6 separate regions of the Homo sapiens genome follow, and all the other regions are linked to region 5. Evidence: promoter capture Hi-C in 16 types of primary human blood cells and fetal thymus (Javierre and others, 2016). All regions are on one chromosome and are shown on one strand. Each heading gives the region's core, a stretch centred on a gene start or on the middle of the fragment in contact. The rest is flanking DNA. Distances are from core to core; before and after follow the strand shown.

Region 1 (4,887 bases), core at 1,957-4,456, 690 kb after region 5:
GCCTGGCAACAGAGTGAGACTCCATCTCAAAAAAAAAAAAAAAAATTCAGTTTAACATACCAAGCTTTTGGTCAAATTTCTAGTAGTTTAGAATTTATAATAAGTATGGGTAATTAAAATAAACCATAAACACTTTAAAGTAAGGGAAGATTCATGAGTATACTATTAGAAATAATAACTAGGGCTGGGCGTGATCCTTCCACAGGTAGTTCTAGCTACTTGGGAGGCTGAGATGAGAGTATGACTTGAGCCCAAGAGTTCAAGACTAGCCTGGGCACTATGGTGGGTCCCCATCTCTTAAGAAAGAAAGAATAGGAAAAACTAAATTAGTATAAGAACTAATTACTTAATTTGTATAAGTTATGAATATGCCAAATGCAATTTAGATGCTTTTTCAAAAGAGCACTGGTACTCAGAACCCTGATTCAATTTTTTAATCCTCATAGAATTTTTATATAAAGATTTTATGTTTGTCAGGTTAGCTCTTCATGTCGTATACTTTTTTTTCCAACCTTGTATTTTAATGTGGTGTTTATGTTTATTACACATTTTTTCTTTGTCTTTTTTTTGTGTGTGGATTTGTAGTTTAATGAATAATACCTGCTATTAGCATTCGTTCTAAAAAACAGCATAATAAAGTGTTCCCTACTTGAATTCATTAACCTATCTTTGAAACAGGGTTAAGTGAATTTTGTATAATAAAGAAGCTAATTTTGAGATACAAAATATTTGGCATAAAATTAAATACTGTAGGAATATTTTTATTAAGGTGTGACATACATGTGTATGTGAGTTTTTGTTGTTTGTTTGTTTGAGATGGAGTCTCTGTTGCCCAGGCTGGAATGCAGTGGCGCGCCATCTCGGCTCACTGCAACCTCCGCCTCCCAGGTTCAGGCGATTCCTGCCTCAGTCTCCCTAGTAGCTGGGATTACAGGCGTGTGCCACTACGCCGGGCTAATTTTTTTAATTTTTTGGTAGAGACCGAGTTTCACCATGTTGGCCAGACTTGTCTTGAACTTCTGACCTCAAGTGATCCACCCACCAGCCTCCCAAAATGCTGAGATTACAGTCGTGAGCCATCACGCCCAACCAGTGTAACATATATTTTAAAATATGTAATAGGATGGGCGTGGTGGTTCATTCCTGTAATCCCAGCACTTTGGGAGGCCAAGGCGGACGGGTTGCAATGTCAGGAGTTCGAGACCAGCCTGACCAACACGGTGAAACCCCGTCTCTACTAAAAATACAAAAATGAGCCAGGTGTGGTGGCACGCACCTGTAGTCCCAGCTATTTAGGGGGCTGAGGCAGGAGAATTGCTTGAACCCTGGAGGCGGAGGTTGCAGTGACCTGAGATCGCGCCACTGCACTCCATCCTGGGCGACAGAGTGAGACTGTGTCTCAAAAAAAATAAAAATAAAATATATAATATATCTAAAAAACTATTGGGCAGTAGTAAATTATGGCTGTGGTAGGTACTACCTTACTTTAACAACATAATGCTATAAAAGGAAAGACTTAAACTGGTATTACCCTTTTATAGTCCCTTAGCAACATGCGTAGGATACTACTTGAGGTCATTATATTTCTCTTCACCCTTTATGGCGACATCAAATGATTTGAATGGCTGATCAGCTTTTTTACGAGGGAATTTGTAAAAACTACCCAATAACTCTAATGATGGAAGATGTTAACAAAGGAAGATCTGGGTACAGAGTATATAGGAACTCTGTAATATCTTTGCCACTTTTTTGTAAATCTAAAACTATTTTAAAATTGTTTATTTAAATTCTAATTATTCAACAGTAATTTAGTTCACTAATAAATTGATTTGAAAGAGTCAGTATTTTTTATTCCTACTTTCACTGGAAGAAAATAAATTGAACTTGTTTTCCGCAACTTTTTTTTTTAGGATTCAAGATGACCAACGAAGAACCTCTTCCCAAGAAGGTATGGGTTTTGGTTTTGGGTTTTTTTGTTTTGTTTTGGGTTTTTTGGGGGCTTTTTTAAGCACTTTAAAAAAAAATAGACTTGAAGGGATTATCGTTGTTTGCTTATTTTTCATTTCTTTGCCTTTATAACAATAATAGCATTGGAGTTGTACAGTGTGCCAGATATTGTATCTTATATCCAGTATATTTTTTAGAATATTTTCAGATTTTGGAAAACTTTAGTTATAATAATATTCCCATGGTCTACTCTTAATGTTCATTATGTGAATATTTCCAGGTCTACTCTTAATGTTCATTATGTAAATATTTCCAGGTACATATATACAAATAATGTCAAAAATGGACATTATGAGTATATTATTATTCTTTTCCTAGTGTAAATCCCTTTGATTGTAATTAAAAACTACTTTATTAAAAAAATGGTTATAGCTAATTTTCAAATTCTACCTTTTTCTCTGAAGTTTTGTTGTCTAGTCTCAAATCTCCCCCTGTTGTGCATTCCTACCTTGAGTTTAATTACTCTTACATACACACACATACACACACACAGTGGCTGTTATAAAAGAGGTAACATCGTCTCTAGGAGGAATTTGTGATTCAATTGGGAAAGCTTACTAAACTTAATATTTAAGTGAATAATTTAGATATTACAGAAGTTTCCTATTGTGGAGTCAGATTACTCATTAAATGAATAAAGGATTGTATTATGCTTTCATAATCTGAGAATTACTGTGTGCTCCCTCTGGTACCCTTTGATTTTCCTCCCTTGGAACAGGGTCTTGCTCTCTTGCCCAGGTTGGAGTGCAGTGGTGCAATCTTGGCTTACTGCAGTCTCCGCCTCCTGGGCTCAAGCGATCATCCCACCTCGGCCTCCTGAGTATCTGGGGGCTACAAGTACGTGCCACCACGCCCAGCTAATTTTTGTATTTCTTGTAGAGATGGGGTTTTACCATGTTGCCCAGGCTGGTCTCGAACTCCCGGGCTCAAGAGATAGCCACCTGCCTCTGCCTTCCAAAGTGCTGGGATAATAGGCATGAGCTGCCTCTGGCAGCCTTTCAATATGTTACATTATAATAGTTCCCTCGTTCCATTTTATGGTAATACTATTTTACTGGTTAGTATTATAATTTGAAACATTTTTAAGGAAAAAAATTTAAGTGTCTTGTAAGGGAATACTAATAAAGCCTTTATTTTATTTTTATTTTTTATTTTCTGAGACAGAGTCTCACTCTGTTGCCCATGCTGGAGTGCAGTGGTACAATCTTGGCTCATTGTGGCCTCATACCCCAGCTTATGCGATCCTCCCACCTTTGCCCCCCAAAGTAGCTCAGACTACAGGTGTGCCACTACGCCTGGCTAATTTTTGTATTTTTTGGTAGAGATGGGGTTTTGCCATGTTACCCAGGCTGATCTTGAACTCCCGAGTTCAAGATATACTCCCGCCTCAGTCTCCCAAAGTGCAGGAGGCATGAGCCACAATGCCCAGCCAAAGCCTTAATTTTATACTGAGGTAGGAGAGGTATCTCACCTTTACAGCCTTTATTTGGTGTAGTGAATATACTGTTTCTCAATTTTTGAAGCATGTTAGCTTATGCCCTTCTTTCAGCTTTTTGTTTTGAAATAATTATAGATTCATAGGAAGTTGCAAATAAATGTACAGAGAGGTTCTGTGCAACTTTCACTGAGCCTGCTTCATTGTTAACACCTTGCGTGACTAGCAGACATCTCTAATAACTGTGAAAATCAGGGAATTGACATTGGTACAATCCACAGAGCTTATTCACATTTCACGTTATACTAGCACTGTTATTGGGGGAAGTGGGGAAGAGCTATATGCACTATTATCATGTCTAGCTTTGTGTAACCATCATTAATCAAGATACATATCTGAACTATCACCATAAAGCTTCATCGAGTTATTCTTTTATAGCCACATCTACCCCGTCCCTCTCCATGCCTGACCCCTGGCAACCACTAATTTATCTCCATTTGTATAATTGTTACTTCAGAGTGTTATATAAATGTAATCATGTAGTATGCATCTTTTTGAGACTATTTTTTTTCCTTCCACTTAGCACAGTTTCCTTAAGGCTTATACAAATTGTTTCATGTATCAGTAGTCCTGTTTCTTTTTATTGCTTAAAGTGTTCCATGGTGTGGCTGTATGATAGTTCAATCATTTGCCTGTTAAAGGACATTTGGATAGTTTTCAGTTTTTTAGCTTTTACAAGTAAAGCTGCTTGCATGTTTTCATTTCTTTGAGATACATGTTTAAGAGTGCAACTGCTGAGTTATATGGCACATTCATTTTTAGTTGTATTAATAAAAGGAACTGCCATACTTCTTCAGATACCATTTTTATATTCTCACCTGCAGTGTAGGAAACTTCAGTTTCTCTGAATCCTCACCAGCGTTTGGTGTTGCCACTAATTTTTATTTTAGCCATTCTAATCAGTGTGTGGTGATACCTGGGGTTTTAATGTGCATTTTCCTAATGATGATGCCCATTGTTAAGATACCAAATAGTTTACCTTAAAAAAAAAAAACTTTTGTAATAAAATACTTTTTCAAAAAATCATAATATGTACTGAGCCGTTTAAATCTCACACTTGGGAGATGTTTCATAGGTCTCATTATAGAACTTTGTGTCTTCAGGAAGAACACTAAATTCATATTGTAATTCTCTTTATAGGTTCGATTGAGTGAAACAGACTTCAAAGTTATGGCAAGAGATGAGTTAATTCTAAGGTAAAATGTTCTCTGTTCAAAAACAAAGTCTTTCTATAGAACATTATATTGTGACTCTACACTGTAATTGTCTTTGTGCCAGATATTGTTTTTAATGTTGTTCTATCCTCAAATAATTTAATGTACTTTTTGAGCATACTATGACCTATTTCTTATATTAACACCGAGGAAAACGTAACACTTTAAAGA
Region 2 (4,390 bases), core at 1,388-3,887, 640 kb after region 5:
CCATCTGGCTGTTCATCTGTATTCTTTGAAATATCCTTTACAAGCCAGAGGCAATGGCTCACACCTGTAATCTCAGCACTTTGGGAGGCTGAGGTGGGTGGATGACTTGAGGTCAGGAGTTTGAGACCAGCCTGGCCAACAGAGTGAAACCCCATCTCTACTAAAAATACAAAAATTAGCTGGGCATGGTGGTGCACACTTGTAATCCCAGCTACTTGGGAGGCTGAGGCATGAGAATCGCTTGAACTCAGGAGGTGGAGGTTGCAGTGAGTTGAGACTGTGCCACCGCACTCCAGCCTGGGTGACACAGTGAGACTCCATCTCTAAATAAAAAAATAAATAAATGAAATATCCTTTACAATAAATTAGTATTGTAACCAATATGTAGTTTTAATAAAGTAATAAAATTAAAAATGGGTAAACATAAGTAGAGTGTTTCTCTGTGTTCTGGGAGCTGCTCTAGCAAATAAATCAAAACCAAGGAAAGGGTCACGGGAACCCCACTTTATAGCCAGTCAGAAGTATAGGGACTTGCGATTGGTATCTGGAGTGGGGGCAGTCTTGTGGGCTGAGCCCTCCACCTGTGGGATCTGACTCCAATTCCAGGTAGACAGTGTCAGAATTGAATTATAGGACATCCAGCTGGTGTCCACTGGACAACCTGGTGTAAAAGTATTGAGTGGTATGTGACAACAGCAAAAACACTTTGGTTTTGTCGTATATCCCTAATACTATGCTTTTAGGTTATCAGATGATGTTATTACAGATATGACTGGAGATACAGGTCTTGGTCTTAAGAGTAATATTTCAACTACCCATTATTTACTATTCCTTTCCCATGGAAACTCAGTGAAAATGACAGAAGATTATAGGATTTTTAAAGTTTTTGACATGCAAGCATAATGCAGACCTCTTTGATGGTTGACAGATTCTTTTATTAACAGTCAAAAACTTCACACAATTGGAAAATAAATGTTTCTTCAATGAATAATCAAACAAAAATTATCCAGGACCTTATAGGGTTTTCAGTATGTACCAGGCTTGATGCACATCTTAGAAGACAGGACATTATCTTGCTGGGATCATTAGGGTATGACTGAAAGTGAGAAACAGTAATTTGTAAAACATTTACCTAATAATAGCTTTCCCAAACAGTACTTCCCCTGGAATTAAAACAGGAAATACAATTTATGTTTATACGTGGTTTTAGATATGACTCAATATACATAGATTTTAACTTTATGGTTTGGTATTACTTTTTTAAAGGCGCTCAATAGAAATTCAAATCTCACTTTAAGACCATGAATTTCAAGTTGCAATGAAGTGTACAATAAAGTTGTGATTTCTCAACATCAAAGTTTAATTATTACAAAATAGTTCAAGCAACAGATAGAATTTCAAAAACAGTATTTGCTTTGCTTCCTTGTTTTGCTCCAACACTAATCATGCTGAGGTTTTTGAAGCACAGCTATGACTAGGGCAGGCACTGCTGATTCAGTCACAAAAACCCTTCTTGGATGAACAATACTTGTTCTTTTCAGAAGAAAAGCAATTTTACCTTTTCTATTTCTATTATGAAAAACAGAGCTAAACAATTTTTGTATTTTTAGTAGAGACAGGGTTTCACCACGTTGGCCACGCTGGTCTTGAACTCCTTCAAGTGTTCTGCCTGCCTTGGCCTCCCAAAGTGCTGGGATTACAGATGTGAGTCACCCCGCCCAGCCCTAAACAATCTTAAAGTCTCCTTTTCCACCAGATGACTAAAATCTTTAGTTTGTAAATTCCCTTAGTCTCTTAAAATCAATCTATCCAGAAGACAAGAAAGACAAACTTAGTGAAGGAAAGAATGCTTCCTCACTCTCTCACCAGAAAGCCAAAGCAAAAATAGAGCCCCACAGAAATTTCAACATTGAACATTTTTTAAATCTTAAAGCTTAGTAGGAATCAAAAAGCTTTATATAAGTCAGCAGATCTGCAAACCTTGTTAGTTCAATACAAACCATGATCTAGCAGACAACTTATATTCAAAAGCTCATCTTTCAAAAGGTTCCACCTTGCCCGTCTATTTAAACAGTCACGACCTTCCTTAGAGAGGCAAGCAGTAATCTTACATGACACATAAAAGCTGTTTCACTGTGACACATATATAATGAAAAGTAATCAGTCTCCAAAGTTTTTCCAATCCACAAGCATGCATACACACACACACATACACACACCGCTTTGGTACTCTTGTCTCTAATAATTTTTAAAGCCTACTTTTCTAACTGAATTTTAAAAGTACCTTGAATTTAAATTTTTTTTAAACTTCAGTCTTCAATATTGAAACTGCTAAGTTACCCCATTTTTCCATGAAAAAAAAATAGAAAAATAAACTTGGGGAAAAAATTAAAAATAAAAAATAAACTTGGGAAAACATTACTAAATAGGTTTAAGAAAAAAGCCTATATAGGCCAGGTGCAGTGGCTCACACCTGTAATCCCAGCACTTTGGGAGGCTGAGCCAGACGGATCACTTGAGGTCAGGAGTTCGAGACCACCCTGGCCAACATGGTGAAACCCTGTCTCTGCTAAAAATACAAAAAGTAGCCAGGCATGGTAGCATGCACCTGTAATCCCAGCTATTCAGGAGGCTGAGGTGGGACAATCACTTGAACCCGGGAAGTGGAGGTTGCAGTGAGCTCCGGTCGCGCCACTGCACTCCAGCCTGGGCAACAGAGCAAGACTCTGTCTCCAAAAAAAAAGAAAAAAAAAAAACGCCTATATAAAGAAAATATTCCAATAGGAGATAAACCTATGTACACAGAGTTGCTCACCCCAGCATTATCTGTAGTAACAATTAGAAACAAATGAAATATTCAAAAACAGTAAATTAGGCAGATGATGAAACAACATGGCAAATGTATGATGCTAAGCCAAATATACAAAAAGATCCCTGTGAGACGGAGCAGGGACCCCTCTTTGGGGTGTGCCAGGGGGATTCCCACAAGCACAGAAATAAAGGAGAATCTTGAGTTTCCTTCACCGAAAACTCCAGGCACCCAGCTCGCCCCGAGAAGGAAACCAGCAAGCTGATAAGCAAGAAGGTCATAACAGTTTCAAACAATAGCCAGGGAAGTTAGAGTCACCTAGAGACATCCTTAACACGTGCCCCTGAGCTACTTTTCAGAAACCCAGACCCCCACCAAATGGATTCACACAGACGTCAGATAAGGGGGAACACCAGGGACTAAACTCTGACCTCCATTCTTTGCTCTCAGTTTCTTCCTGAGGGGCCTGGCCAGACCTTAATGTTCCTTTCTGCGGACCCCAAGTTTTTAGACAAAGCTTTGCTTCCTTAACCAATCACAAATCAGGGAGTCTTTGAATCCACCATAACCTGTAAGCCCGCCCCCTGCCTACCCCACTTCACCTTTCAGGCCAAACCAATATATAAGCTTCATGTAGTGATTTACAATTTTGGTATACAGCCATACCACCCTGAAGGCACCCGATCTCGACTGATTTACAATTTTGCCTTTAACTTCTGCTTTCCTGAAATTTACCACTGCCTTTAAATACTCTAGCTTGTAGGTCATCATGGAGATTGGGTCTCAAGCATGAGCTGCCCAATTCTCCTTGCTTGGCGCCCTGCAAATAAACATCCTCCTTTCTCCTACTGCAAAAACCACCTTTTTGCAGTTTTGCTGTTGAAGTTTGCCTTTACTGTGCAGGTGAGCAAACCCCAGTTCAGTTCACCTGCTACATTTAAACAGTATACAGCTCTATTTGCAAAAACTATACAGGAACATTTGACCTAACAAAAACCACTGGGTGACATCTACCAGAAGTATCACTGCAGAGGATTACTCGACAAAAAGTGCAATTTTCTATAGAAAGCCGAGTGTTTCCCTTGGGAAAGTGTTAATATTTTATTTTTAAGTAACTGGGGCAAAAGACTAGATTTTCTATAACTGCAATAGAATAGGACTAGAAAGGCATCCCTACAAGTCCCCAAAGTATATGGATGGAATATTTTTGATGGTTTTATAAATGACAATTGTAATTTAGCTCTCTGAAGAAAATGTCCAATCAGATTCAATCACACAAAGCATTTACTATTTTCAATCACTTGCCCAATAACAAAATGTTTAGTAAGAAATTATTCAGAACATTAAGTTGTTTATGAAATAAGTGACTAAGCAACATCAAGAAATGCTACAATAGAGCAGCTTACTGTATTCTGCAGTACTCTATACCACTACAAAAACAGTCATAAAGAGCTTAACATACTCAGCATAACGATCGTGGTTTACTTTTTGCAAGCCATGTATCTTTCAGTTACATTCTCCCAGTTGATTACATTCCAAATAGCTTTTAGATAATCAGGCCTGACATTTTTATACTGAAGG
Region 3 (4,385 bases), core at 938-3,437, 890 kb after region 5:
TCCACTGTTGGATTTTTAAAAAACTTTTATTTATCTTCACCAATTATTTAACTTTGATTTTCATGCCTTCTCACTGAATAAATATTCCTAAATAGGTTAAAATAACAGAGAAATGAAATCATCTAAAGACATTAGTCACACAGTGTGCTCTGGTGATAAGACTCCTGGACTGCATGAGGAAAAAGTGTTGCTTCTGGCCCTGCCATGAAGTTGTTGTGTGATCGTGGAAGCCGTTCACCATCTCTGGACCTGTTCCTTCCCCTGTCAAATTAAATGGGGAGGGCTCTCAGGTGGGCAATTACTATTTTTTTGATGTTCACTTTCTATCTCCTTTTTCTTTTGGTAATGAGACCCTGTATTTCCTTTGGGGAACCACCCCTCTTCTACAGTCAGTCATTTAGTTCAGCTGGGGGACCACCATGAGCTTGAGATGTGGGATCCCCTCTGTGACAGTGGGAGTTGGAAAGGATGCTTCTCATAGCATGAAAGGATAACTAGAAACAACATTTTTATGAAAGTAAAAATGGCTAGCAAGTCAAACTATTTCTTATCTCCTGTATTAGTCAGCGACTGCTGCGTAACAAATTACTATGAACTTAGCAGCCAGAACAACACACACTTATTATCTCAGTGTTTCTGCAGGTCAGAAGCCTGGGCATGGCTCATCTGGGTTCTGAGCTTCAGCATCTCACTAGGCTGAAGTCAATGTGTTGACTCAGCTGCAGTGTCATCAGAGACTCAACCAGGGAAGGATCCACTCCCAAGCTCCCTCAGCTTGTTGGCAGAATTCATTTCCTTCTTCTTGCAGGGTTGAGGCTTTGCATTCTTGCTGAAGCTGCTCTCAGCAATGGCAGTTTGCCTGCAGTTCCTTGCCATATGGGCTTCTTCACCATGGCCACTTACTTCATGTCAGATTTTTCAAGGCCAGTAAGGGAGAGTACAGTATGTCTGCTCCTAAGAGGGAGACTTATATATATGGTAACTTAATCATAAAGGGACATCCCATTATCTCTGCCATATCCTGTTAGTTACAAGTAAGTCCCAGGTCCTGCCCACACTCAAGGGGAGGAGAGTACCCAGAGGCATGATCCCAGAAGGTGGGTGTCTTTGGGGGTCACTTTGGGTCTTTCCACTACATTCTCCATTGAACCTTCTATGTGGAAAGACTGACTTGACATGTCAATGAATATTTAATGCCTTCTCCATTCCATTTGGTAAGTGTCTCCAAGTCTTGGACTGACACTGCCCTTATTGTACATACTGTTCAATGGTTTTATCTTGAGTTCCTTGTGATTTTATTGTAGTAAAAGGCCATTTATGGAATTCCACTCTGTAGCATGCATTGTTGTGTTCAGGCGCCAATGTATTTGCTTTCATTTTAACACTTGGGTTTAGTGGATGGAGTTTCTCCTGGGCAAATCTGTGACCCAGGAAACACAGCAACCTGGTTGGTGCTAGTGTGTGACAGAGCCCTGTGTCTTTGTGTTTACCCGTCTGTGAGATTATCCCATTAGTGGGACACTCCTCAGTAGAAGACCTTTCTCAGCAGGGGGCTGATCCCCAGGTCACAGAATGGATGTTTTCATATCCTCCATTTGTGTTATGCCAGAGCAGCGGTGATAGATGATGAGAGCCGGAAGTCCTCTTCTTTAACTTCCCATGCTTCCATACCTTCCATCAGCACTGAGATTTTTAGATTCTCCTGTGAAAAGACTTTCAAGATCTGCTTTTCTTATCTCTGATTAAACCAGAAAGAAAATGACTTGACCAGGGTTGAGGAGAAGGAGGAACAAAGGGAAGGGTGTTTGAACCAGGAAGGGTTGGGGGAGAAACAAAAACACGTTTGCTCCTGCTGCATGGAGCCATCTATGGCTGTTTCACAGCTTGAAGAAATGCACACCCAACAAATAGGAGTCTGTGGAAGACTGAAGATTTATGGTCATTTTTCAGTTGGGAAGATAATAAAAAAAGAGAGCCGTTACTTTTTATAATGGCTAGGCTGTTTTTCATTAGTTTTAATAAACCTTTCCTTTCCCTAACTTTTCTTCTAAACAGTTACTTGGACCTTTAACAAAAAACAACTTTTTATTTTAGAATAGTTTTAGATTTACAGGCAAATCACACAGATCATACAGAAGGTTCCACGTTCCCTGCTCCCCTAACTTTCTGTCCAGCCCTGCCCATTGCCCAGTGCCAGGCTCATGCAGGTCATCAATACCATGCTCCTAGGGAGACAGAGCTAGAGACAGCCTCTTTTCCTACTTCCTTCTTAGCATGTAACTGTCTCACAATTTCTGAAGATCGAGAGTGATGTTGGAAGAGGGAAATGAGGGACGGGAAGGAGGTACAATAAATTCTTTAATATTCCCAAATGTGATTTTAATGTCTAATTTCAGCCCCCGTGTCTGGAAATCTTTACAGAAACTGCTAGCAAGTGTCCAGAACGAGGGACACCCCGTAGTCCTTGTTCCTACAGGAGAGGGCACTCCTCCTTGCCAGTGGGAGTGGCTACATGAGGCCTTTGGTTTGCTGTCAGCTTGGCTCTGAGGCTGGTTTGGGGAGCCAATGATGGATGAATTTTCTGCAGAGCTTCCCATCATCCACAAAGGCCCAGAAAATTCTCTGTTGCAACTTGTTGGCAGCAGTGCTAAGACCCTTTGAGCAAAAGACAGGTCATGCTCACCTTTAAGAAGAGGTTGTAGGCTTTCCCCCTTGACTTGGAAGGAAAAAGGAATTCCAAATCTCCAGGATAAGATGGACCTCAGAGCCATTTTTAAACTTCTCATGCTCAAATTCCTCTACTGCAGTCAAAACAGCATGCCATTGGCATAAAGATAGACAAATAGATTAATGGAACAGAGTAGAGAGTCCAGAAATATACTCACACATATATGGACAACTGATTTTTGACAAAAGATGCTGGAACAGGTGCAAAAAAAAAAAAAAAAAAAGGAGAAGAAGAAGAAACTTAGCTCCTTGAATCCATAATTTAAAGTGTGTTCAAAAACTAACAAATGTTGGGTGCGGTGGTTCATACCTATAATCCCAGCACTTTGAGAGGTCGAAGCAGGTGGATCACTTGGGCCCAGGAGTTTGAGACCAGCCTAGGCAATAAGGGGAGACCCCATCTCTACTAAAAGAAATACACAAAATTAGCCAGGTGGGGTGACGTGCACCTGTAGTCCCAGCTACTCGAGAGGCTGAGGTGAGAGAATCACCTGAGCTCAGGAAGTTGAGGCTGCAGTGAGCTGAGATCATGTCACTGCACTCCAGCCTGAGCAATGGGAGTGAGACCCTAAAAAAACAAAAACCAAAAGCTAACAAATGAGATTATAGACTTAAATGTAAAATCCAAAACTATAGCATTTCTACAAATTATAGGAGAAAACCTTTGTTACCTTGGGTTAGGCAAAGAAAGATTTCTTACATACGGTGTCAAAAGCACCATCCGTAAAGTAACAAAGTGATGAACTGTACTTTATGAAAATTAAAAACTTGGCCATTGAAAAGGCTCTGTTAAGACAACGAAAAGATAAGCAATAAATGGGCAGAAAATATTCGCCAAGCATGTATGTGAAAAGGACTTTATCTAAAATATATAAAGAACTCTCAGAACTCAACAATGAAGAAACAAACAAGCCCATTTAAAAATGGGTAAAAACTTTGAACAGACGCTTCACAAAGAAGATATATGGGTGGCAAATAAGCACATGAAAAGCTGTTCTACATCATTAGACATTATCAGTAAAACCACAGTGAGATACCACTACATACCCATTAAGATGGCTGAAATTTAAAAGTCTGATGATACCAAGTGTTGGCAAAGATGTAGAAAAACTGGAAGTCTCAGACACTACTGATGGGAATATAAAATGGTACAACCATCTTTGCAAGTAGTAGACCCACCATGTATTCCATGCATTCCATCCATTCCACTCCTAGATACTTACCCCCCAAAAACTGATAAATGTCCAACGATAGGTGAATGGATACACTGGTATACCCATACAGTGGGATATTATTCAGCAATAAAACTGAGTGAACTATTGATACACAGGAGACAAATGTCAAAATTATGCTGAGCAAAAGAATCCACATAAAAAGGAGTACATACTATATGGTTCCATTTATATTAAATTAGAAAATTCCCTCTAATCTATGGAGACAGAAGACAGATCAGTGGTTGCTTTCGGGGGGCAGAAAGGTATACAAAGGAGGGACAAAGGACAGTTTTGTGGGGGATGGATGCGTTCACTATCTTGATGGTGCTGATGGTTTTACGGGTGTATGCATATGTCAAAACTTACCAAGCTGTTCAGTTTAAATGGACAATTTATTGTATATCAATAAGCAAGTCATTGCATGTTAATGATACCCCAATAAAG
Region 4 (4,546 bases), core at 769-3,268, 920 kb after region 5:
TTATGAGGGGACAGCAGTTTCATATAGAAATTACTGCATCCAGACAACAAAAAAACACAAAAGGGGAAGGGATTTCTGTTTTGCAACTCTTTTTATTGGAGAGAAAGCATTTTGCAGAAGATCTCAGGAGACTTCCCATCGAGTTCCATCATCAGGACTGGGTCATACGCCCTTGCTCTGGCTGTAAGAATGTCTGGGAAGTGAGAATCTCACACCCACAGCCTCTGGTGGAGGTGGGCTTTGCCAGCAATCAAGGGCATGAGATGCCTGCAGGAAGGCAGCCAACCACACCTGCCTCATGCCTCTAACCCTATTCCCCTCTAAATTCCCATGCCAAAGCCTTAGGGCATTATCTTTGATAGTTACCTGGCCAGGTGTTAACTAACTGGGAACTGGGTGTTTTTGAAGGACACAAGGCTTTCTGCTGTCGAATTTGTCACCTTAATTGTGATACTTTTAATAAATTAGCTTCCAGTCTATCTTAAAACCAGATGGATTTTCCTGATGTGTCACCGTGAACATCTCTCTTTCTCCAAATCTCTCAATGAGGAGGCAGTTGATGAGTTAACTGCATGGGCTTTGGTCCCAGATCATACAGCTCACATCCAAGCGCTGTCACTTACCAACTGCATGACCTTGGGCAAGGTATATAATTTCTTTATGACTGAATTGCTCATCTTTTCAAGGAGGGTAATAAAATTACCTATTTGGTGGGATTGGTATTAACAGTAAATGATATAATACAGGAATGGTATTGACAGTGAGCCTTCAGTATGTATTATTGTATCTGCTGTTATTGTTCCCTACTTCATATCCAGCCAAATCTAAGCTTATTAGATGACCATTTAAGATCCTCTAGGAGCTGGGCACAATAAAAATTTTCAAACTTATATAAAAATTGACTACGTCCTAAACTGCGAGCTCCTTGAGGGAGGGATTATATTTTATGAGCCCAGGATCTAGCACAGTTTTTGGCCAAAAGTAGTTTTTCTTTATTCCCATGTGACTTTTGCTTAAGCAAAAGGCCTTGTACAGCAAATACAGCTTCTGTATTTTACCATGGCCTTGCACTTGCTGTTCTTTGTGCCTACAATGTCCTTTCCCTAAATTTCCCCCATTCTTCCAGATTCACTCAAAAGCAATCTCTTTCATGATGAGATCTCTTTCCCAATTCTCATTTTGAAAAATGTCAAACCTATAGAAAAGTTGAAAGAATAGTACAAGAGCACTGATATATTCTTCACTACATTTGTGACTGTTAATATTTTTAACCTCTGCTTGCTATTCATACATATATTCTTTTTTTCCCCTGAAATCATTTGAAAGTTGCCAACATCATGACACTTCACTTTCAGCATGTATCACATAAGAACAAGCACATCGTCCTATGTAATCACAGTAGCTTTATCTTATGAAATTTAACATTGATTCAATATTATTTACTGTACATTTTTTCTTGGCAGTTTATGATCTTAGAAATCAAGAAGCCTAAAATGAATCACTGTGTGTTTTGAGGGTCTTTTGGTAGAATCATGTTCCTTTCTGGGTGTTCTAAAAAGTTCCTGGATCTTTGGGGTGAGATTCTGTTTGAGTTTCAGAACAATGTGTGCATGCCATCAGTTTGATAGCTCATGGTTTGTGTTCCAAAGGGGCAGCTATTAGTGTTACCTGTCCCTGCTATTGCTCTTGACATCATGCAGGGACATCCTCAGTAGCTGCTCTTTCTGCCCTTGGTCTGTCATTTGAGCTTGTGTTTCCAAAGTCAGATGCAGGAAGATTGGGTCCTCACAACAGGGCGGTGGTTGGAGCACCTGGATGCCAAGCCTGGATCTGTCCTATCATTTGAGGGACATTTGTGTTCTTGGCTATTTGTGTTCTTAGGCTGCCATAACAAAGTACCTCTGGGTGGCTTAAAATGACAGAAATTGTCTCACACAGTTCTGGAGGCCGGAAGTCCAAAACCAAGGCATTGGCAGGGTCACGCTCCCTCTGAAGGCTCTAGGGGAGAATCTGTTCCATGCCTTTGTCCCAGCTTCTGGTGTTGCTGGCAATCCTTGGTGTTCCTTGGCTTGTAGATGCATAGCACCTCCATTCTCATATGGCTGCCTTCTCCTTGTGTGTTTCTTGCCCACTTCTTGAAAGTACACCAGTCATACTGGATTAAGAACCCACCCTACTCTAGTATAACCTCATCATAATTTATCCATAAGGAATGACCCTATTTTCAAATAAGGTCACACTTGAAGTACTGGGGGTTATGAGTTCAACGTATTCTTTTAGGGGACACAATTCAGCCTATAACAGGGGGTCTTAGGCTGATATCTGTGAGTCTCTGCTTCCTCAAAGGTTTTTCAGAAAATTTAAATGAAATACAGGAGAATTATGCCCTGCAGTATTTGACTTTACAGCAGGAGTCCCCCAACCCTCCGGGCCATGGACTTGTACTGGTCTGTGGCCTGTTAGGAACCTGGCCGCACAGCAGGAGAACGAGGGCATTACCGCTGAGCTCCGCCTCCTGTCAGATAAGTGGTGGTGCAAACCCTATTGTGCATGAGAGGGGTCTAGGGTGGACTGTCCTTGTGATGCCTGATGAAACATCCCCCACAACAGCCCTCCACCATCCATGGAAAAATTGTCTTCCACGAAATTGGTGCCTGGTGCCAAAAGGTTGGGGACTGCTGCTTTAAAGTCCCTTATATAGGATTTACATTAAAAATTTTCCAGTGGTCTCCAAATGTCCCTTATACCTTCCTATTTTTGGGTCTAGGCTCCAAGTAAGAATCACGCATTGCATTTTGTCATGCCTTTTTAGTCTCCTTTAATTTAGGACAATGGTTCTCAAACTTCCATGTGTATGAGAATCTCCTGGAGAGCTTGCTAGAGCAATCTCCTGGTGCCAAACTTCCACGTTTATGAGAATCTCCTGGAGAGCTTGCTAGAGCAATCTCCTGGTGCCAAACTTCCACGTGTATGAGAATCTCCTGGAGAGCTTGCTAGAGCAATCTCCCGGTGCCAAACTTCCATGTGTATGAGAATCTCCTGGAGAGCTTGCTAGAGCAATCTCCTGGTGCCCATCTCCAGAGATTTTCATTCAATAGGTTGAGGCAGGACCCATGAAATGGCATTTCTAACAAGCTGGTAGGTGACACAAAAGTTGCTTGTCTAAGGACCGCACTTTTGAAAACCACTGATCTAGAACAGAGGTTGGCAAGCTTTTTCTGCGGAGGGCCATATGGTAAAATATGTTAGCATTTTCAGGTCATACAGTCTCTGTTGCAACGACTCAACTGTGTCATTGCAGGCAAAAGCAGCCCTAGATAATACATAAACACATGGGTGTGGCCGTATTCCCACAAAACTTTATTTACAAAACAGCTGCCTTACCACATTTGACCCACAGGTTATTGCTTGCTACATGGATTTAGAGTAGCACTTCCACTTTTTTTCTCTTTTTTTTTTTGGAGGAGAGTTGTTTTTTCAGCGCATTAATATTTTGCAATAGTCCAGTTCAGTTTTCTTGTCATATGTTTCACAGTTTGAATTTGATTGTTTTATCTCAATTAGATTAAGTTGAACTTCTTGGCAAGACTACTTGTGATAGTGTGTACGGTAGGGAATAACTGTGAAAGACTTTGAAATGGACCAAAAATATTAGTGGTCAACTGTAATGGAATGCTAGCTGTTTAGTACAGTCTTTTGGGTTATCTGATTCTATGGGGTCTTGTGTCTGCCACTGTCTTTGAGGTATTTTACAACTCTGTAAATTGTAGACTACTGATGGTAATATACACGATTTTTGTCTTTAGAAATGCAAATTGTGTCTATTGCGTACGCAGCTGTTTTTTGACCTATGGTTACTGACCAATTTTCCATCTATAGACAACCTTATTTCAGCATTCCTAACTGCTTGAATATTTGTTGGATTCTCCTTGGATTTTCCTTTGAACCAGCTGTGACATGTTACCGGTTCTCACATTAATGAATGAGCTAAGGAATACCTTTGATACATGTTCATTCTACATCTGAGTCATGATTATACCATCTTTTAAATATTACCCTTTAGCATTTTTTATTGCATCACTTTAGAAAGCAGAAAATGCTAGTTTTTTAAAAATTGGTGATACTAGTTTTAATTACTTGATTAAGGTGGTTCTACCAGATCTTTCCATTGTGAAGAGGTATTTTGTGTTTTTTAAGGAAGTATACTTTGAAGGTGATACTTTGAGACAAAGAGAATATTCCGCTTCACAATAATTTTTCACCAGATGGTTTTAGTATTTACTGATGGTCTTTGCCTGTATCCATTATAACACTGGAGTTGCAAAACACAAACCCTTTTTCTTTTTTTTTTTTTTTGAGATGGAATCTCGCTCTGTTTCCCAGGCTGGAGTGCAGTGGCACGATCTCTGCTCACTGCAACCTCTGCCTCCTGGGTTCAAGCGATTCTCCTGCCTCAGCCTCCCGAGTAGCTGGGACTACAGGCGTGTGCCACCACGCCCGGTTAATTTTTTGTATTTTTAGTAGAGATGGGATTTCACTGTGTTAG
Region 5 (4,326 bases), core at 1,297-3,796:
ACCAGGGCAACCAGTTCCCTAAACAGCAACACCAGAGTTCCTCAAGGCCTCCACCTTTCCTGTTTTCACTCTTTCCAGCTGTTTGCTACAGAAAATTAGCAAAACCTAACTGTGCTGATCATAAACAACCATCTTAACCTACTGGCCTGAATAACTATAGAGGAAATTTCTGATATGAAATAGATTATTTTGATTTCCTCCTTTAACTGGCGAAGAAAACGAAACTTAAAAGGTGAGGAAGTGACTTGCTGAATATCTTTTCGAAGGCACATAGCAGGGCTGGCTCCAACCCTTTGCAGCCACGCAGGCACTAAACAGCCACTAGAGGGAGCTAACACCATTTTTCCTTCCAGGTGACTGGTCACCTTGGGTTTTCCAGGTTGCTGCTTTAGGACAGAGGCAAATACGAATCGCTGCGGGAAGCCTTGAACCTAGATCTGGCAACTGGGAATTATCAGCAAAACGTTATCAAGATATTCTGTCCTTCTGAAATCCACAAGATGTGTGTGCAATGGATATTGCAATCTCAAACATTTCCTTCTTTCTTTTCTTTTCCTTCCTTCCTTCCTTCTCCTTTCTTACTAATTATAAAGGCTATATTTTCTAAATGCATTGGCATCTGTTTCTATACATTTCAGATTGGCAAGTGGAAGCATGATGAGAAAGAAGTGGCCTGTCTTTATGGTTCAGGAGAACTGGGTCAGGGTTACGCTATAATGAAATGCATTATGAAAAAAGTTGAGAGTGAATGGTGGGTCCTTTGGGATTTGAGATCAGCAACAGTTGCTTCATAGGCTCTTGGATGCATTCTCCATAAGAGAAGGAAGAAAATGGAAAAGACACTGTGTGTTTTTCAAATGTGTGCATGCTAATTGTCGAAACATACATGGCCAGGAGATTGAACCGCATTAAAAACGCTTGGCAGAACTGGGGATTCTCTATGGAGAGGCTCTTTCCTTTCCCAGCACTCCCTGCTCTAGTGAGTTGGAGCATACCTGCCATTTAAGGGTTAATGTTCTGCGGTCTTTAACAGAACAACTTATACAAAAAAATTCCTAGTAGAGTAAAAGCGCTGTGGTTTTGCAAACCAAGAGCACTGGTTGTTAGCACTTACATAAAAGATCGGTATGTTTTTAAAACTCACCAATGAGCTGGCAAATACTGTCTTCACTCTCACATGATGCCAACAGGGGATGTTCCTTGATATCACCCTAAAAACATTTTTATTTCAGTTAAATATAGTGACTGAAGAAACCTATCGAGTCTTTCCCCACAAAACACACATACAGCATTTTATTCATATTAAAAATGAAGTCAGTAGAGTGCATTGATGTTTTTTCTAGCTTCTAGAAGCAATATTAAGGTCTTGATTGTCATCATATAAGATCCTAATTAATGTGCTTAATTTACTACATGTGTGATGTTAGTTTACTACTCTTATAATTACTATTCAACCCAAATAATATTCAATTAAAACAAAGTTTTCCACCTTCTCACAGTACAGATAAAAAGTCTTAAAAATTGCTTTCTTACCTCTGATTGACATTCGATTAGTGTCTCCATATTATTGGCGTTTAGTGTTTTTGACTAAAAGAGAAAAAATAAAATTAGGTAAATATCTTTTGGCCCTTGCCTGTAGGAAACGTGAATGAATGAATGTGAGAGGGGCACTCACAGCATTGTGGCTGCTTCTCAGCTTCATCAGTATTGCGGCTGACTGTCCAGGGGTGGATTTCACTCCCGTGTGGCTGTGCCTCTGTCTACAACGAATCACATGGAAAGGAGTTAGGAGGGACTCACACAGTAGGCCACTTTCAGCGCCACTTTGCCAAAGCACAGAGTTTGAAACTATTTATTTATTTTTCTCTTTTGCTATTTTTTCACTTGCCTTTACTTTGGAAAAAACTATTACATAGACAAGTTTTCATTTAAAATCAGTTCTGTTACCAGATGTTGTATGTTGTTAAGAGCAGCATCTGAACACAATTATTTCTAAATTATTTAAGTCAACTATCTTTACCACTCTAAACGTTGTTACCAATTTATTCCGTTCCATCAAGAGATAATCTGGATATCAATTACGTTAACATTTTAAATTAACATGAACATTAACTTTTTTGGTGGAGTGCTGACTATATGCCAGCTGTCGTAGTAGGTGCTTTGCATGGATTTTCTCATCTAATCCAAAAAGGAAAAAAAAAAAAACATATCCCTAGGATGCTAAAATAGTAAACATGAAACAAAGATAACATTTACAGAACTCCTACACCAAAAAGGTGCAGCCTTCACGTTGAAGCAAAGCTTTGTCCTGAGACTTTATAAAGTGAGAGCATATTCCACGGGATAGCTGTTTTCTGTTGCCTGTGATCTGAGTGACCTGTGACTTGCGAGGCAGCTTGTAATTTCTAGGCATGTTAATATATAGTGTACTTACCCTTGGAGGGTCTCTAGCCAGAGTTCTTTTACATCCGGTGAGCTGTAAAGAATGGGAGAAACAGCATAACTCTCTGCTCCTTCTAGTCCACTGGGAGAGAGAGAGACCGAGCCGGTCTCCCTTCACATGCTCTGCATTATAAGCGAAGGGGCGGGCAGGTGGAAATTCAGAATATTACAGAGACCGGAAAGAACATCATGGGCTGTCACACGGACGGAGCCAGCCAGACACTGGAGAGCTCTCGCTTCCTCATTCCTTTTAGGGCAGCTATGTCTTTTTTTTTTTTTTTTTTTTTTTTTTTTTTTGTGTCTTCCACTTCAAAGTAAAAAATCTGTAAACTACTAGGAGTGGAAAACATGACATTCAGCCCATAGGTGAAGGCTCTGATTAATGTCATAGGTGGGATGTGTGAACAAGAAATTGTGTTATTCTGTGCATAAACATCACTTTATTTTCTAAAGTGGTAATTTCAAGTGCCTCTTTTTGCATCCTGTTTGGGTGCTCTTTCCCCTCCCACGTGCCATCTGCTCTGTCCACCAGCACCACACGTTGATTAGCACCCCTGGATGTGGGACACTGTTACAGAACCAGAAAGAAACCCAAGACAGTCCCTTCCTTGAGGAACAATCACCGTCCAAAGCCAGGTTAGTTTCCTTTGGAAGTAGAAAGAAAACTCCCTCGAGTCAGTTGTCAATATAGTAACCCCCTCCTCCTTTCTGTAACTCCTGGTCAAAAGTATTGATACTTAATTTACAGTCAGAGCAGCTGTCGTTCTGACACGGAAGGAAAACAAACAAAAAAATTCCTTTGATCAGACCAACTTAAAGTAGGAAAGAGATGGTGAATTTCATTTGTGGATCACTCTTCTGCATAAGAGAATTTCTGATCTTTTCTGTAGATCAAGGGCTATATATGAAACCACTCAAATGCCTCGACACGAGAATGGATGCATAAATTGTGATCCATTCACATAGGGAATGAATGTTGTATAGCACTGATAATGAACAGCCTATGACTATAGCCAACAATATGGTTGGATCTCATAATATGACGCTGAGCAAAAGAAGCCAGACGTGAAAGTGTATATCCTGCCGGCTCCCATTAATGCAAAGCACAAAATTAGCAAAAGTCGTCTGTGCTGTTGGAAGCAAGAGTAGCAGTTTCCCAGAGGGGATGGTAATGACTTCCAGGGGCCAGCGGGGGGCTTGGTGATGGTCCATTCTTGATCTGGGTGGTGCTAGGCTTATGTGCACACTTCCCTATTTATGTAATTTTTCAATAAAAAGTTTTAAAATAACTTGGCTTCATTTATCATCAGCATCTTTAATTTTAAGACTTTTCCGCATTGTCAGTTCTTTTGTCATTTTACTGAAAGGAGGTGATTATGGGGCAGACTTTGGGAAACCGAAGCACAGAGAGGTCGAAATTTGCTCTGTAACTTAGCGGCTCGGTGGGGACCTAGGGACAGATCCTGGTTTTCAGGCTTCCAGCTGGGGGCTCCCTCTCTGAAAGCCACCACAGTGCCAGAGTTCACCCAGTGTTCCCAGGGCAGCTGTAGAGGCCACCACTCTTTCAGCATCCCTCTCCTGCCTTTATAAACCTCCAAAGTGAACTCACTGATTTTTTTAATTGAAAAAGGGCATTTACGCTGTGCCCAGCCTAGTGCTAGGCATATAGTAGGTACTAAATAACTAATTTCTGAATATATACATTTCCTTATAAAATAGCCAAAATAGAATATTACTATAATGTTCTATATATCATAGAATATATATGTGATGTATATTCATTGCTAGTATGTATTTTCTAAACTTTTTTTTTTCCCGACAAACGGACTTTTCAAATTTTTGTAAGAAACTTAATGTACTTACTGTTCTTTCTTTTTTTTTTTT
Region 6 (4,222 bases), core at 1-2,500, 660 kb after region 5:
AAGAGAAATTATATTTACTATTCATTAAGCAGAAGTGGATCATCATAAAGGTCTTCATCCTCCTCATCTTTATGGTGAGTAGGCTGAGGAAGAGAGGTTGATCTTGCTGTCTGGGGGGTGGGGGGCGGGGGTGGAGGCAGAAGAAAATCTACATAGAAGTGGACCCATGCAGTTCAAACCCATGTTGTTCAAGGGTCAAGTGTATTGCTGTTAAACCTGTGTAGCTCCGTGCCTTTAAACAGCTGCCACTCCCTCTCCCACATTTTTCACACCCAAAAGAATTGGGCCCAGCCTTATCTAATTGGAGCCCAAGATTTGAAACTTTCTTCCTCCTTCTGTCCCTACACAACTTCCCAACTTATCCCTATCTCCTCAAATCCTGATTGGCCTGCTGTCCCATCTCTTACACGACTCTGGTCATCACTCTTGGACCTAAAGCTTGACATTGCTTCTATGCCCTGACCTTGGTCCATCTGCCCCTTAGATGGCATTTGCTTTGTAGCCTCAGTGAAGACCCAGCTTCCTGGAGTTTCCCTTCACAATGGCCCAGCTCATTCTTCCCAACCTAGTCTAGTGAAAGACTCAGACTTGCTGGGGACCCAGGAGGCCAAAAGAGAAGGGTTGTCCCATATTGAGAGTCCGGCAGAGCCCTCCATAAGATCCTTTCATGAGGACTTCCTGCAACATCCTGCCTCCTTTATGGAAATGGACACCACCTCTTCCCCATTACTACTCCACGAGAAAAAAAAAAACAAACATGGTCACTGCATTCTATGTAAGGGTGGGATCTGTCATTATTAAACTGCCAACTTCTAGTTCATATCCCAGGATTTGTCATGGAGTAAGATTGATTTCAGGTGCACAGTTCCAAGAATGACTCTCAAGGGCTACTCAAGCTACTAAAGAGTAGCCCAGACCACTGAGGGCTGTGAGCAAGCATAAGGATCTTGGCTGGCTGAATCTCTGGGCCAGCACAACCCAGGGGCTGCACTCCACACTGTACATCTACTCGGAGCAGCCAAAATAGGTACACAGGAGGAGTGGCCTCGCATACCACCCAGGTCCATGCCAGATTGTGGTCCACTGAGAACAGTATTGATATCACAGTATTTCTGGGAACCTATGTCCCATCTCAGGCAACTCCCAGGACTCAATCCATCTTGGCCTGCATCACCCTCCTCTCGTGCCAGCTTACATCTGCATTTACCCTCTGGTGAGAAATTAGATAAAATCGCATAAAATAAAACTTCATTTTCATGCTAAAGATATTTAGTTTGAGGAACTAGTCAGCTATATGTTGGTACACTAGAGGTGAGCCACTAAAAATGATCACTGTTCAGTTAGATGTGGACAAAACATATTTAAGAGTGGGACAATTATTAAACATTTAAGGGATCAGATTGGTTTCCAGGTGTCTTTAAATGCCACTCCACTTTAGAGAATTAATGGAAATTAGAGACAACACATTACTAGTGTGGTGATGCAGTAGCTCCAGTAATTTTCTGGTTCTTCATCTGAATTCATTTACATGGTTTAAGTTAAAATGCATTGTTGGCCAGGCGCGGTGGCTCACGCCTGTAATCCGAGCACTTTGGGAGGCCGAGGTGGGTGGATCACAAGGTCAGGCGATCGAGACCATCCTGGCTGACACAGCAAAACCCCATCTCCACTAAAAATACAAAAAATTAGCTGGGTGTGGTGGCAGGCGCCTGTAGTCCCAGCTACTCGGGAGGCTGAGGCAGGAGAATGGCATGAACCCAGGAGGCAGAGCTTGCAGTAAGCCAAGATTGCGTCACTGCACTCCAGTCTTGGTGACGTGCGAGACTCTGTCTCAAAAAAAAAAAAAAAAAATCAATGCATTGTTAACATGTGTGGCATGTTTTCCAACTCCCATTTTTTTGATGGCATGGATAAGACTTAGTCTCTAAGTACTAAATGAAGAACAAATATCTCTCTGAGTGCACTTTGAAAGTAATGCTTAAATGTCTGGTCTCTGGGACATAACATCTATCTTTGTTAAACTCTGACTTTTTACTGACCTGATTTTCATTTAGGTTCAGTCTAAGCTTTCCAAATCAAGCAGAGACCTAATTTTCTTAAGCTTCCCTGGAACACAATGTAGGATCTCGGCTTTTAGACTGAACTCTAGGAGACACAAATTCTCAGTGATGGGGTGGTCTCCAAAACCATGAGAAGGAGTCCACTTAAAGCAACTGTCAGGCAAGACAATATGTAAGATTTCCCTGTATTCCACCCACATGCCACCACTGTGAGCAATATAAATATAACCCCACACCTGCTTCCTCTCCAGGCCAATCCCTGGAGATTTGAGAAACCATGGTTAGCATGCTCAAAGATGAGCAGCAGCAGCAGAAGGCAAGACGCTAGAGAAGGCACCTGCCAGCTGCCAACATCTTTCTCCCTCTGTAGGCTGCTGGCCTGCTAGAGGCCTGTGATGAAGTTTTGACTTTAAATCACTTTCAGAGTTTTGCTTCTCACATGGGAGCATTTTGGATAGTGAATTGAGCCTGTGTTCTAACTTAAAGTGATTATAAGACTTTTTATTACTAAAGAACATATATTTTTTAAAAGGTCACGGGACCAAGCTGGGCGTGATAGCACATGCCTATAGTCCCAGCTACTTGGGAGGCTGAGGCCCGAGGATCACCTGAGCCCAGGAGTTCGAGGTTGCAGTGAGCCACGATCATGCCACTGCACTCCAGCCTGGTGACAGAGTGAGACCCTGTTTCAAAAAAAAAAAAAAAAAAAAGTCATGGGACCAGCATTTGATCCAGGGACGAAGGAAAAACAAGCCCATGAAGCAAATTTAATGACCTATTGGGCAATAAAGGAATATCACTTCATGATCTCATCCATGAGTCATTGTTACTGTTAATAGTCACACATCAGTGCTATGGTAGAATCTCAAAATCTCCCACATTTTTGGTATTTGAATGGTACCCAACATTTCCAGCTTGAATGTGGACTTTTCCCCAGCAATTTGTATATTCTATGAGTCATTTCAGTGGGGATTTTAGGAGAGAACCTGTGCTCATTCCCCTTCTTGCCAGAGGATCACCCACCCCGTCAGCCCAAGTGTGACCTTTACAGTTAGAAAGTGCTATACACAGCTGCTTTTCTCTCACTTTTTCCTAGAGAACAAGAACAAAATCTCCCTGCCTTGTATCTAAGGTTTTTCCTACTGAGAAAGAGACTTGTTATTCAGTTCAATGGTTTATGGGCATAAAATATGGATGCCCCAAATAAGGGACCTTACTTTATCATATAAATCTGATGAGCTTAAACATACTTTAGATTACATTCTCTGTAGTTAGTTGTGCCTTTATGCTGCTACGCATTTGTAGTGGCTAACACCTGTAATCCCGGTGCTTTGGGAGGCTGAGGCGGGAGGATCCCTTGAAGCCAGGAGTTCAAGACCAGCCTGGGCAGCAAAGCAAGACCCTGTCTGTATAAAATTTTTTTTTTTTTTTTCTTGAGACTGAGTCTCACTCTATCACCCAGGCTGGAGTGCAGTGGTGCAATCTCAGCTCACTGTAACCTCCGCCTCCCAGGTTGAAGTGATTCTTGTGCCTCAGCCTCCCTAGGAGCTGGGACTACAGACGTGCACTGCCACACCCAGCTAATTTTTGTATTTTAAGTAGATGGGGTTTCACCATGATGACCAGGCTGGTCTCAACCTCCCAACCTCAGACAATCTGCCCACCTCCGCGGCCTCCTGAAGTGCTGGGAATACAGGTGTGAGCCACCCTGCCCAGCCTATAAACAATTTTTTAAAACCTCAGCCAGCAGCAATACAGGGAAGCTCTATCTCTCCAAAAAAAAAAAAAAAAAAAAAAAAAGAAAGAAAGAAAGAAAGAAAAAAAAGCCAGGCATGGTGGTGTGCGCCTGTAGTCCCAGTTACTGAGAGGCTGAGGTGGGAGGATCACTTGAGCCCAGAAGGCAGAGGATGCAGTATGTTGTGATGGCACCACTGCACTCCAGCCTGGGCGACAGAGCAAGACCCTATCTCGAAAAAAAAAAAAAAAAAAAAAAAAGCCAGGTGTTGTGGTATTTGCCTATAGTCCCAGCTACTCAGGAGGCTAAGGTAGGACTGCTTAATCCCAGGGGTTCGAGGCTGCAGTGAGCTCTGATTGCACCACTGCACTCCAGTCTGGCCAACAGTGAAACCTCATCTTTAAAAAAAATGGCTTCCGGCCAGGCA

Evidence for each region. The method cuts DNA at HindIII sites, captures the fragments that hold promoters and counts their contacts. A CHiCAGO score of 5 or more calls a contact.
Region 1: a fragment that was not itself captured here is called in contact with the fragment with the promoter of TAGAP in region 5 in 1 of 17 cell types (megakaryocytes); the score reaches 5.5 in megakaryocytes.
Region 2: a contact is called between a fragment that was not itself captured here and the fragment with the promoter of TAGAP in region 5, in 2 of 17 cell types (M2 macrophages and megakaryocytes). The highest score is 6.1, in M2 macrophages.
Region 3: a contact is called between a fragment that was not itself captured here and the fragment with the promoter of TAGAP in region 5, in 1 of 17 cell types (neutrophils). The highest score is 5.3, in neutrophils.
Region 4: a fragment that was not itself captured here is called in contact with the fragment with the promoter of TAGAP in region 5 in 2 of 17 cell types (neutrophils and M0 macrophages); the score reaches 6.6 in neutrophils.
Region 6: a fragment that was not itself captured here is called in contact with the fragment with the promoter of TAGAP in region 5 in 3 of 17 cell types (M0 macrophages, M2 macrophages and neutrophils); the score reaches 9.7 in M0 macrophages.

What each region holds. Positions count from the first base shown.
Region 1 is chr6:159,734,348-159,739,234 of GRCh38, forward strand. WTAP (WT1 associated protein) reads left to right here. Exons shown (of 8, transcript NM_001270531.2): 2 at 1,911-1,948; 3 at 4,643-4,698. The coding sequence starts at 1,919. It also overlaps a transcript of SOD2 not described here. Among named protein-coding and RNA genes, the nearest start is that of WTAP, 9.3 kb to the left of the region's middle. The HindIII fragment of the contact is 1,296 bases long and covers 2,559-3,854 here.
Region 2 is chr6:159,678,203-159,682,592 of GRCh38, forward strand. It overlaps SOD2 (superoxide dismutase 2), which reads right to left. Exons shown (of 5, transcript NM_000636.4): 5 at 1-4,390. The coding sequence ends at 4,291. Among named protein-coding and RNA genes, the nearest start is that of SOD2, 13 kb to the right of the region's middle. The HindIII fragment of the contact is 1,374 bases long and covers 1,951-3,324 here.
Region 3 is chr6:159,935,151-159,939,535 of GRCh38, forward strand. No RefSeq gene overlaps it. Among named protein-coding and RNA genes, the nearest start is that of IGF2R, 32 kb to the right of the region's middle. The HindIII fragment of the contact is 4,391 bases long and covers 1-4,383 here.
Region 4 is chr6:159,963,160-159,967,705 of GRCh38, forward strand. No RefSeq gene overlaps it. Among named protein-coding and RNA genes, the nearest start is that of IGF2R, 3.6 kb to the right of the region's middle. The HindIII fragment of the contact is 2,383 bases long and covers 828-3,210 here.
Region 5 is chr6:159,042,445-159,046,770 of GRCh38, forward strand. TAGAP (T cell activation RhoGTPase activating protein) reads right to left here and starts at 2,547. Exons shown (of 10, transcript NM_054114.5): 1 at 2,435-2,547; 2 at 1,676-1,760; 3 at 1,534-1,587; 4 at 1,145-1,211. The coding sequence starts at 1,702. TAGAP-AS1 (TAGAP antisense RNA 1) reads left to right here. Exons shown (of 5, transcript NR_183546.1): 5 at 1-612. RefSeq lists an enhancer at 1-250. The HindIII fragment of the contact is 8,846 bases long and covers 2,300-4,326 here.
Region 6 is chr6:159,698,820-159,703,041 of GRCh38, forward strand. It overlaps a transcript of SOD2 not described here. Among named protein-coding and RNA genes, the nearest start is that of SOD2, 7.7 kb to the left of the region's middle. The HindIII fragment of the contact is 1,628 bases long and covers 437-2,064 here.